2 separate regions of the Homo sapiens genome follow, and region 1 is linked to region 2. Evidence: promoter capture Hi-C in human tissues and cell types (Jung and others, 2019). All regions are on one chromosome and are shown on one strand. The core of a region is centred on a gene start or on the middle of the fragment in contact, and the rest is flanking DNA. Distances in the headings are between cores, read along the strand shown.

What was found. The method cuts DNA at HindIII sites, captures the fragments that hold promoters and counts their contacts. A contact is called where the count stands out against the background at its distance.
Region 1: a contact is called between a fragment that was not itself captured here and the fragment with the promoter of DAOA in region 2, in 2 of the 25 tissues and cell types used here (dorsolateral prefrontal cortex and mesenchymal stem cells).

The regions. Positions count from the first base shown.
Region 1 is chr13:106,093,834-106,099,872 of GRCh38, forward strand. No RefSeq gene overlaps it. Among named protein-coding and RNA genes, the nearest start is that of LINC00460, 280 kb to the right of the region's middle. The HindIII fragment of the contact is 3,527 bases long and covers 1,173-4,699 here.
Region 2 is chr13:105,462,469-105,468,316 of GRCh38, forward strand. It overlaps DAOA (D-amino acid oxidase activator), which reads left to right and starts at 3,577. Exons shown (of 6, transcript NM_172370.5): 1 at 3,577-3,592; 2 at 3,748-3,864; 3 at 4,585-4,673. The coding sequence starts at 3,821. It overlaps DAOA-AS1 (DAOA antisense RNA 1), which reads right to left. Exons shown (of 7, transcript NR_040247.1): 5 at 3,719-3,952; 6 at 1-39. The HindIII fragment of the contact is 13,308 bases long and covers 1-4,998 here.

The DNA.
Region 1 (6,039 bases), core at 1,686-4,185, 630 kb after region 2:
ATATATATATTTGCGGGGTATATTAAGTTGCACAAATTACAAATTTTATTTCTGGACATCTCTTCCTCTGTACCTAAGGGATGATAATAGCAGGAAAATAATTGTCACTAGGCATGAAGGGTGCCTTCTTTTTTATTTATTTTTATCTTATTTTATTTTATTTTATTTTATTTTATTTTTTGACACGCAGTCTTGCTCTGTTGCCCAGGATGGAGTGCAGTGGTGCAATCTCAGCTCACTGGAACCTCTGCCTCCTGGGTTCAAGTGATTCTCCTGCCTCAGCCTCCTGAGTAGTTGGGATTACAGGCACCCTCCACCAAGCCCGGCTGATTTTTGTGTTTTTAGTAGAGACAGGGTTTCACCATGTTGGCCAGGCTGGTCTGAAACTCCTGACCTCGTGATCCGCCAGCCCTGGCCTCCCAAAGTGCTGGGATTACAGGCGTGAGCCACTGCGCCCGGCCTGTTGCCTTTTTCAAAAAAACCATCAGTGCCCACAGTGGAGCACACAAATCTAATCTGTGCAACTACTGTGTTAAATTCAATGACATTTGTTTATGGAACCAATACAATGTTGGTTCAATGCCATGATAAGAGTTTTATTTTGAGACTGAATAAATACTTTATATTCAATTTTTTTTTTAATCTGTAGGATGCTTTGTGGCCTAGTCATCAAACACAAACATGAAGAAGTGTACTAAGTAGATGCCCTGTGTTAATGAAAACCAACTTGATATGATTTCTCTTTGCACTCAACAAAATTTGATGTGGTAACATATGTCCAATTTAAACAAGCTATTGTCTTGCCACGAAGTTGCTTATTGTTAGTTCAGTCACAATTTTCTTCTACTAGAGGCACAGAGATATACAATGAGTCTTGGCCCTTGACTTTTTGAAATAAGTCTCCACAACTTGGAAAAGTTCACAGGTTTTTCTTGTTCTTCATCTATTTGTATCCATTTTTTTCAGAGTGCTTACATATTTCCCTACGATCTTTCTTCATCAATTTTCCTATCTCTTTTCTCCTATCTCCAGTTTCTCCTCCGCTGCCTTTTTTTTTTTTTTTTTTAAGACAGATTCTCACTCTGTCACCCAGGCTGGAGTGCAGTGGCCCCGTCTCGGCTCACTGCAACCTCTGCCTCCTGTGTTCAAGCAATTCTCCTGCCTCAGCCTCCCGAGTAGTTGGGATTACAGGTGCACACCACCACACCCAGCTAATTTTTTTGTATTTTTAATAGAAACGGGGTTTCACCATGTTGGCCAGGCTGGTCTTGAACTCCTGACCTCAAATGGTTTGCCCGCCTCAGCCTCTCAATGTGCTGGGATTACAGGCATGAGCCACTGCGCCCGGCCTTGCTGACTTTTTCCTGTCAACCTAAGACAAGTTCAAAATCTCCTTTATCCTAGCCCTGAACGACACACACCTAATCTCACTGGTCTCTGTGTTACTGTTCTTCCCTTTACAACTAAAATTTTAAAAGACTTATTCACTCTCTTTACTTGCTGACTTCTTCATCATCGCTAAATTCCATGAAGTCTGTATTTTGGCTTGCAATTCTACTGGAACTTTTCCAGTAAAGTAAACCAATGCCTTCCGAATCATCTAACACACTGGCCAGCCTTCCCTTCTCACCCAGGTGAACCTCTGCAGTATTTGACACCCTCTGGCCTAGTCTCCTTCTTTTTTTAGTCATCTTTTAAAATTTTGTGCGTTCTATGACTCTACTATCACCAGTTTGCAAACAACTTCCCTGCCCATGTTGCAAGCCATATTGCAAGCCCTCATCTTCCCACACTCACGTTTCCAACTGTGGATGACACCTTTCCACAGGAATCCTAAAAGCATGCTCAAAATAGAACACAGCGCCTCCTCTCAAAAAAAAAAAAATTTACACATTAACTCTATTCCACCCTTTAATTAATGGCATCATGAACTCTCCAGGAAACTAAAGTTAAAAATTGGCAATGATCTTTAATTTACCTTTTTATTTTACACGCACATCCAATCATACATGGAATCTTGGCAAACCCCTCTAAGGAAGTCTGCCCCCTCTCTTTCTGCTCCGTGGATATACTCTCATAAAGCTCGCCATCTTGCCCCACTCGAGGACTTCAATGTAGTCTTCTGTATTATAGATTGTTCTAGTCTTTTCCTCCTCTGATGCATCTGACATACTGCTGTCAAAACCATGTTTCCAAACAAGACTCTGATCATATTATGTTAGACTCAGTTTCAGTGACTTCCGACCACATATGGAGTAAAGTACAAATGCCCAGCCCAGTACTCAAATATTTATCTGGCTTCTACCTATCCTTCCGCGATTGTTCTCCATTAGACTCCACTCCCTGGAAAGAAACACTTAGGTCCTCTGTAATCCTCCACTGCCTGTCCCAAAGACTGTGCTCTTCTCCTTCCACTTATAACAAATCTCTTTTGTCTGCAGTGCCTCTCCCTTTTTCATTCTTTCTCAGTTTGTCTATTGAAGAATAAGCTTAAACCCCAGCTTTTCCAGAAACCCTTCCAAATCTCGCGGTTGTAATCAATCTTCCCTTCTTTTCTCCCGAATGCTCCCATGACCATTTGAAGTGAATCTCTACCAATCTTTTTAAAAATGATATGTGTGTGTGAGAGGGCACACATGCTTATGTGTGTATATGTGTGAATATGTATATGTATATGTATACATCACACACATACACACACACATATATATATATACTTAGACTCCTTGAGAGCAGAGATCTGTGTCTTAACTTTGTTTTTTATCACGTACAGCACCACCAAAGGGTTTTTCTCAAGATGCCGTACTTAAGAGTTTGGTGGAGAATCTTGTTAAATGTCTGTGTCTACTGTGCCAATCCAGATTCACTTGTCCTTCTGAGACCTCAAGCGATTTGGAGCAATAAAACCTGTACTCTCTGTACTTTTCTTTGCAGGCTTAGTCACTTTTATGGTACCTATTTCCTGGTGACACATATTTACTTTGTGGTCAGATGTTTTACGATAAATTAGGTGCAAATTGGGACTCAGCTATCCAGGTTCCTGAAACATCTCAGGACACTTTCAGACAGTGCCCCTTGAAAATCTCATAAAGCTTACCCCTCACCACAGTCAAAGGCACATAAGTAAATCCACATAGGTTTACATGCAACTGCAGAAGGTTTGTAAACACTCTCTCCTCCCTGAAAATCTATTGATGGTGGCGGGGGACAGGAGTGTGGTCATTGGATCCTAGGTTAAAAGTCGTGGAACTGGGAGGATTTTTACAGTTACTAGAAATGTAAATGCAAACAAAATTTCTAACGTCACTTAACACTGGTAGAATGACTACAAAAATTTAAGAAGTTAGAGCCACTTAGAAAGTTCCTAAAATATCAGGGAGAGCATGTCTCACTCTTACATCAGAATTCTAGAAAATTCAGGAAGCAAATTTATTTTAAATACTTTTTGTTACAAGGCATATAACATGTTTGAACTAGTATGCTATTTCAGCTTTTAACACATTTTCTCAATTATCTGCTAGTATGTTAACTAAATAATTTCCAAATGCAGATTAAAAAGTATACTAGATCTGAAAAATTAGAATTAGAATCGTCCTTGAAGCATTTTACCTTTTTCAGAGCTAGCCTTTTGAATCAGAGGGATACACTTAAAAGAAGTTATAGCAACAGCAATAAAAACCGTTTGAAGATAATGTACTGTGATATAATTTAGTTATCACCAGCAAATTGTAAAGTAAAATTCTACTTAGAAATTAGATTATATTTCAGCAAAAACATAAGAATTCTGTCAGTCTCTTTTTTGGTTGTTTGTTTATAAATTTGTTCCTCAGTTTTTGTTTGTTGTAGGACCTCGAGAAAAATATGTTTTCAATTTCCTTATTCATTTATTTTTTTCATTTAATCATCCTTTCGACAATGCTTATGGTGAGCACACTCCGTTGACACAGCACAGTCGGCCCTCAGTATCTGTGGGTTCCACATCTGTGGCTTCAATCAACTTCAGATCTAAAATATTTGGGGAAAAAATGTGTCTGCACTGAACATGTACAGTTTTTTTTTTCTTGTCATTTTCCCCTAAGAAATAGAGTATAATATGCATTTACATTGTAGTTGGCATTATAAGTAACCTAGAGGCAATTTAAAGTAGATGGGTGGATGTACATAGGTTATATGCAAATACTCTGAGACCTTATATCAGGAACTTGGGCATTCTTGAATTTCGGTATCTGAGAGAAGTTGAACCAATACTTCATGAATACCGAGAGATGAATGTTCTTGCTCCTAGAAGGGCAAGATTGAGGAAGGTGAGTTGACTCTTGTTTTCACAAAGTTTATTCTCTAGAAGGTAACAGACTAATAAGCAATTATTTCAAAGTAGAGAAATGGCTCTGAGATCATAAAAGGCAGGCTTCCGGGTAGATGGAGGTATTAGGGAGGTCCTTGTACAGGAAGCGGTTTCTAGGGAGACCTGGGGGAAGAGTACTGCCGGGTGGCAGATAGGAATGAGCAGGCCCCCTGAAAGGTCAGCCATGGGAGAAGGCTTAGAGATGAGAGGAAAAGGACGTTTAGAGCAGGAAATGTAAAAAGAGGAATGGGAAGAGATGAGATGAGAAAGTGGGCAAGAATCTGATCAAAGAGCATCATGTGGTTCATGTTAACAATTAGGCATTTTCCTAGGGACAGTGGGGAGCCTCTGAAGTATTTTATGAGTCTGTTTGGCATTTTAGAAAAATTACCCTGACTCAATGTAAAAAGGGGATTGGATAAAACAGGCAAATGTGTTAGCTCACTGCTGGGTTGAACTACTCTGTTGGGGTATAGCCCTGAACTTACAGTTAGGGACATAGTTAGCTCTCCTAATTATGGTGTACTTTAGTTCTAGTGGTTCTCAAACCTGATCAGTAGAGCCAACCAGTGAGCTTTTAAAAAGGCACATTCCTGCCATCCCCCTGCCTCACCTAATTCAGAGAATCTGGAGAAATGACCACACACCGTGCTATGTCCTTGCACCATTCATAGGTGACTTACGTACTGGTGAGTATATCTTTGAGGGGACCACCAGCTCATCATTGTCCACTCTGGACCATTCCAACTTTGGAATCCAGGAGGCTGTCTCACAATGGGAGATGCCACATAGCAGCCTACAAACACATTCCTCTCACAGCCATGCCCAGCAGGAGCCCTAAGTTATCCATATTGCCTCTTACAACATCCGTAATAGGCTTATTCCAAATGTGTCTTCTGCAATAAAGTTGTTCTTGATCATTCTAATCAGACATGATTTCTCATTCCTTTGCATTCCCATAGGACTTTGCACTGTATGATAACCTTTATCATTTTGCACATTATAATCTCATTTCTTAAATCCTGAGACTTGGTTGGTTTTTGGTTTTGCCTAGGGTAATAACTTGTCAATACCTATTTAATTGACCCGCTTACAGATATAATAGGGGGAGGATGGCTTCAAAGAGAAAACATACAAACTCATTTTTTAAAAGCCTGTATCTTTGAACACAAAGATGAAAAGTAAAATAAACATTAGCTCAAGAGGAGACCAGAGGTTGTAGAATATTGTATTGTCATGCCTGGAGAAAAATAAACACTCGATTTCCAGATTTTTTCACTGGGATTCTAAAGCATCAGAATAAAGCAAATCGACTTTAGGGGAAAATAGAGGTAGAAAGATAATGGGGTTCTTGCAAGTAATCCCCTGGAGGGTACAGGCAAAAAAGAAAGGTCCTTTAAGGAAACAGAACTTCGTAACAGTTATGGGTGTAATATTTACCATATGTCCCATATGTTTTCAAATTACAAAAGTGCAACTCTTTCCCACAGCGCATTTGCAAGTGGACCTGACAACCCCAGGCCACAGAAATCAAAGACGGTAATCTACCATAAATTCTGCCACGCTAGATGGAACGAATATCTGTCAGATTTTTTAACTTAAACTTCTCTTCCTTTAAGAAGGCAGCATCTGGCTCTAAACTGCACATTTAATTTAAAAATCCTTTAATAACAGCATTAATTCTCATCGTTTTG
Region 2 (5,848 bases), core at 2,327-4,826:
CCCCACACCAAGATGATCATCTTAGAGATGCACAAAACCCTAGAATGGGTAAGGAGAGATCAAATATTTCAGATAGGAAAGTGGGATATTTGTCTAGATAGGTGGCCTAAACGTCTACTCTGATCAGGAAAACTACCTTAAGCAGAATCAATCAAAATAATGCCTTAATAATGAATCAAAAAGTGAATGCCAAAGTATCTGCCTTTAGTCAATTTGAGTGTAGCAAATGAAATATGACTTAAAACAGGGTCAATCTTGAATGCAAAATATGGACTTTCTGAACACACACAAATGTTTCCATAAATATATAAAATGTATTTGTATTTCATAGACAACTAAGGTACAATTTAAACTACGTTTGTTTTTGCAAACTCCTAAATTTCATTATCTGCCATTCATTAAGAAAAGGAGGCGAAAGAAAAAAAAAAACTTTAAACACTAATGTATAATTTCAATTTTGTTTTAGGCAACTGTGTAAATGGCATTTTTTTTGGCATATTTGTATAACACAATAAATGTGTAGCCCACAGCCAAGGGGATTGCATAAAATTTCCCCTGGCATAGCTACTATTTCCAATCCAATCATGCTCAAGAGAATATCTTATCTGCTTTGTATACACACACATACACACACACACACACACACATCTTCAACATTTGTTAACATTAACATTCATTTTGTTTCCTGTTATGCATGTGTATATGTGCTTTTATTTAATAATGTTAGTTAACATTTCCTTTTTCTGTAAATAATGATAGTATAATTTGAAAAGTCTGGCTCAATTCCCAGACTTAGGTCAAGCTAATATACGAATATATTTAGTCCAGTTTACTGTTTTATTGGACTTTGATGTTGAGTTATGTTTTTTGAAAGAGTATTTTTATACTGCAAGTTCCAAAAAAGATCCTAAAAAAGACAAAGCCTTGTTTTCTTTTTATCTTTAACTGTAATAAGAAGTTGGATCTAATTTCGAAACTCCCACAATTTGCTGCACATATATTTTGGATTATGTGGGAGGCTAAAATTATATTGAGCATGAGGAATTGTTCCTATCTTATTTTCTGGCATAAAATCATGTTTTTCTTTATTGTTTTTGTATGTCTCAGAACTTCAGAAAAAGGAAAAGCATGCATCCAAAATAAAGAAAAAGTAATTATAAATTTACAACATCACAAGTGAACACAACCTACTTCTCGTAGTATTTTTGGTTTGGATATATTGCTAAATAGCATCATCATTCTCTTAGACATGAGGTTGAAAATTTCTGGGTTACTGTTGACTTCTTTCTTATTCTTACTTTTTTAAGTCCTTTTGTTTATTTTTATTCTTTCTGTTATCACAGATCCTACTCATTTTTGTCCCTCTGTAACTATTATCTAAATACATTTAAGAGATTCTTAATTGTCTTTTATAATTTACCTTCTTTCCTCTCCAAGCTATTATTAATTTTGAAGCCAAAACAATCTCAATCAAAATATTTACTTCATTTTAATGATTTCTCATTGTCTAGTGTGTTGAGTTTCAGGAAGAATGCCGGTGTCCTCTCTATTCTGGCTATACCTTAAAATTACTTCAGTGATTTTTAAATACACCAGTCTCTGGACCATAACCTCGAGACTCTGATTCATTATGCAAGAGTGGACATGGGTCTTTGAATTTCTAACAAATGTTATTGTGTTTTAATTGTGCTAAGAAAACCCTGCTCTGGCAACCTAATAAAGTAGCCTGCTAATAACAGGTACTCAATAAATATTTGTGGAACAAATGAATTATTGATTCTTTGTATGAACAGTTCATTCTCAAGCAAACACCTGAACATCAACCTCTCCCACCCCACACCCCTTTTGAAATATTCTTCATAAAACTTCCTACTGTATGAAAGTATCTTCTGTGTGTGAATTTTTACAGTCTGCATCACCACATGGAATGTGAGATCCCTGAGAAAGGAGACTTTGTTTGTTTTGTTCCCCACAGTGCCTCAGTGTCTGAAATAGCACCTGGTAAATCATAGGGACTTCTGAAATACTTTCTGAATGGATAAATGAGTGGTAGGAAAAGTGTGAACATGGTAGATAAAAGAGAAGTCACCACTAGAACACCAAGTTCCTGACATACAGTTTCAAGGTCCAGCAACATAGTTGCTACGAACTAGCTGCCTTTAAAGTTCTCTAGATCAACTATATAGATTAGCAAGTCTTTTAACTAAGCATTAAGCAGAGTACTGCTCTGAGATTTAGCACCTCAGTCTTTTAGGTCCCTAAAGACTCCGGATTGGTTCCAGAGGTGGACTGTCAAATAGGAGGACTTTCTGCAGTAATGGAAATGGTCTATGTCAGTGCTGTCCAACATGGTAGCCAAGTGTGTGTGGTTATTGAGTACTTGAAATATGGCTAGTGGCACTGAGGAACTAAAGTTTTAATTTTAATTAGTTTAAGTAGCCTTAGGTTGCTAGGGGTTACCATATTGGATATTGCAGTTCTAGAGTTATTCTTCTCTCCTCATATTCAAAATTATCTTATGATGCTATCATAATTGAAAGATTAGCCAGGGACCCTATCATGGCTATGGCAGTCATGTCCTGTGAAAAATTCCATTAATGACCTCCACGTTTTATGATGTGTAGAGCAAAATCTCAGTCTCCCTGAGTAAGGCCTGCTCCATGTGGACACCTGGCTTTCTCCCTTGTCTACCTCCCTCAGTGGAGAGTCCACCTGCTGGTAGTGCACTCCTTAGGTGCCTGTCTCTGGCTGTCCTGTGCCACCTGCACAGAGTCATGCATGAGCTCCACTGTGGGAAGTCTCTAGAGATGAGCTGAGCTTACCCTACACCAACTGAAAGAGTCTATCTAAGTCCTGAAGATCACAAGTCATCCTCATATTCCCATGAATGTGAATGGAAGTTGGGCCTGCTCAGAGAATCATCAGGGCTCTTTATTGTGGCCTGGAGCCAACTGCCAAGGAGTGCCTAGGAACACACTCAGTAAGAGTGTTGCCCTCAGGCCAGATCAGACTTGAACCTGCAGAGAAATCCCCTAGGTATGTCAGCAATTGCTCATTTGGATGCTATAAACTTGAAGTTGTGAAAAATATAAAGACTTACATTATCCAGTCTCTCCTGGCAAAATATGTAGGTTTAATCATTCCTGAATTTTCCTTAGTTCACACAGATATACAAATATATATCCTAAAAATTGGCATTGGTAGGCGTGTCAAGTTATCATTTTAAAAACATAGAAACCTGAACAAGATGTATCACTCCAGTCTAGAATGTCTATATGCAGAGTATCCACAAAAAACCAAACTTCAACAGTCTTTCATGTCTATATTTCTTCAACATTCTTTGTCTTCAACATTCTTTCATGTCTAGAATGTCTATATGCAGAGTATCCACAAAAGACCCAAACTTCTTTCATTTAAAGAACCAAACTTCTTTAAATAAAAATGACTCACAATAATTTAATATTTTACCATTTACAAAGAGATTAACTACAACAATATTGATCTTGAGTTAATTTCCCACGAATAACATTTTCATTTCTTAAAATTTGCTGAATGGAAAGCCAGAAAGTAGAGTGAAGCAAGTAATGTGTGTGTGAGTAGTCATTGGATACATACATAACAGTGAGCAAGTTTATCAGCTCCTGCATGGCAGTGTTCTGATGATCTTTTGCTGCAAAAGAGCTACACCCCAAATTAGTGGCTTAAAGTAAAAGCTTACTAGTGTATATGATGATTCTGTTGGTCCAGGATTTGGAAAGGGCATGGCAGGAGGTCTCATCTCTGCTTCACAATGCCGATGATTTAGCTGGGAGGACCCAAAATGCTGGAAAAGCTGATGGGTGCTGATTCTCTCCAGCTTTTCAGGTAGGTAGCTTGGGGTTTTTTACAGCATGGCGGCCTCAGTGCAATGTGACATTTGCATGGCAGCACAGAGCTCCCAGGGTGAATGTTCCTGGAGACAGGAAGTGGAACATGTCAGGGTTGGAAGCCTGAGCCCAGTATATGGTTCAGCCTTACTTTCTCCCATATTCTGTCAGTCAAAGGAGAACCTAGCCAAGGATCACTCATGTTAATGAGGAGGAGACATAGGCCCTCACCTATCCCTGGGAGGAGGATCAAAGAGTTTGAATCTTTAATCCACAGCAGGCAGACAGCTTTCCATTGTTATAAACCACCTCCCCCTCACTCCATCTGCCTGTGCTAATTGTTTGCTCACAGGAATTTGTTTAGCACTGTGTAGAACTGGGATAACTTTGTGCTTATTTTGCAGTTAAAAGGGAGAGGCGCTAGTTTGGAGATTTTTAAAAAGCAAAGGTTTGAGAGCCAGTAAGACCTGGAGTGAACTCTCCTGTCAGCTATTTACCAACTGTATGACTGAGCAATTTATAAAAAAAAAATGCAAACCTCAATATCTTCATCTATAAAAATAAAAAAATAAGACGTATTTGGCTGAATAGTTAAGATTAAAAATATGAAAGTGCTAAACCATACATGTTATATGCTCCATTGATGTTGCTTATTCTTTCTCTCTTCTGCAGGGTATAAAGGAATCTGAACACGACTGATATTTTCTTTAATTTTTAGATCCAGATATACATTGGGTAAAATCTACTTCATAGGTTTTCAAAGGAGCATTCTTCTGAGCAAATCTGAAAACTCTCTAAACTCTATTGGTATGTTACTCTTTATCTTTATATGAATTTAAATTCTTCTAGAAGTTAGATAAAACTGTGGTAAAGCTACATAATACTTTTGACATATTTTCAAGCGTAGACAAACTTCAATTAATTTGTAAGATACAGGAAGAAAATTTTTCCAGTTAAAATGTACCTCTTGGTTTCTGGAGTGTTAGCAACCATTCACACTTACAGTTCAAACAGTGCAACCTTGTAAAACATATATAACTTATGAAGAGATCGATATCTCTTTTTATAAAGCAAACAAGTAAATTTTTCCCTCAATCCATGATTTATTTTTGTGAAGTGGGAATTTAAGGCAGTAGTTCTGCTTTCAAGTGAAAACCTGGATCAACTTTTAAATATCTATAGGCGCAAACCCAAGCTAGGTCTCACACAGTGCCTCACTTAATAATCTGTCAACGTTTAATTCTTTTTCTTTTTTTTTTTTTTTTCTGGAGACAGGGTCTCACTATGTTGCCCAGGCTGGAGTGCAGCAGCGCCTCGGCCTCCCCAAGTGCTAGGATTACAGGTGTCAGCCACAACACCCAGCCCATTAATGTTTAATCCCCTAGAAGGTGATCCTTTTTTTTTTTTTTTTTTCAAAGAGACAAATTGCAGCTCCTTCTCTGGGCTTTTCTACACTATAGCAGATAACTTAAAATCTGACATGCCAAGATATAGCCTTGTCTTAGTTTTCTATCACTGCTATAACAAATAAGCACAAATTTAGTGGTGAAAAAAACAAGCACATTCATTATTTCATAGTTCTCATCAGGCTGACAGACATCTTACCTGGCTAAAAGCAAGGAATGGGCAGGGCTGCATGCCTTCTGGAGGCTCCAGGGCTGAGTCCATTCTCTTGCCTGCCCCAGCTTCTGGAGGCCTCCTGCATGCCTTGGCTCGTGGCCTGCCCTCTGTCTTTAGAGTCAGCAATGTTGCTTCTCTGACCACTCTTCTTCCAGCATCCCCCTCTCTAAGCACAGCAGGGAGACCTTCACTGATTATAAAGATGCCTGTGACTACCTTGGACCCACCAGGATAACCGAGGTCACTCTCCACCTCCCGGTCGTTAACATTAATTACATCTATGAAGTCCCTTTGTTACACAAGATTCCACAGGTTTTCAGGATTAAGAACTGGACATTTTTGGGGGGTGGAGCAAAGAAGTT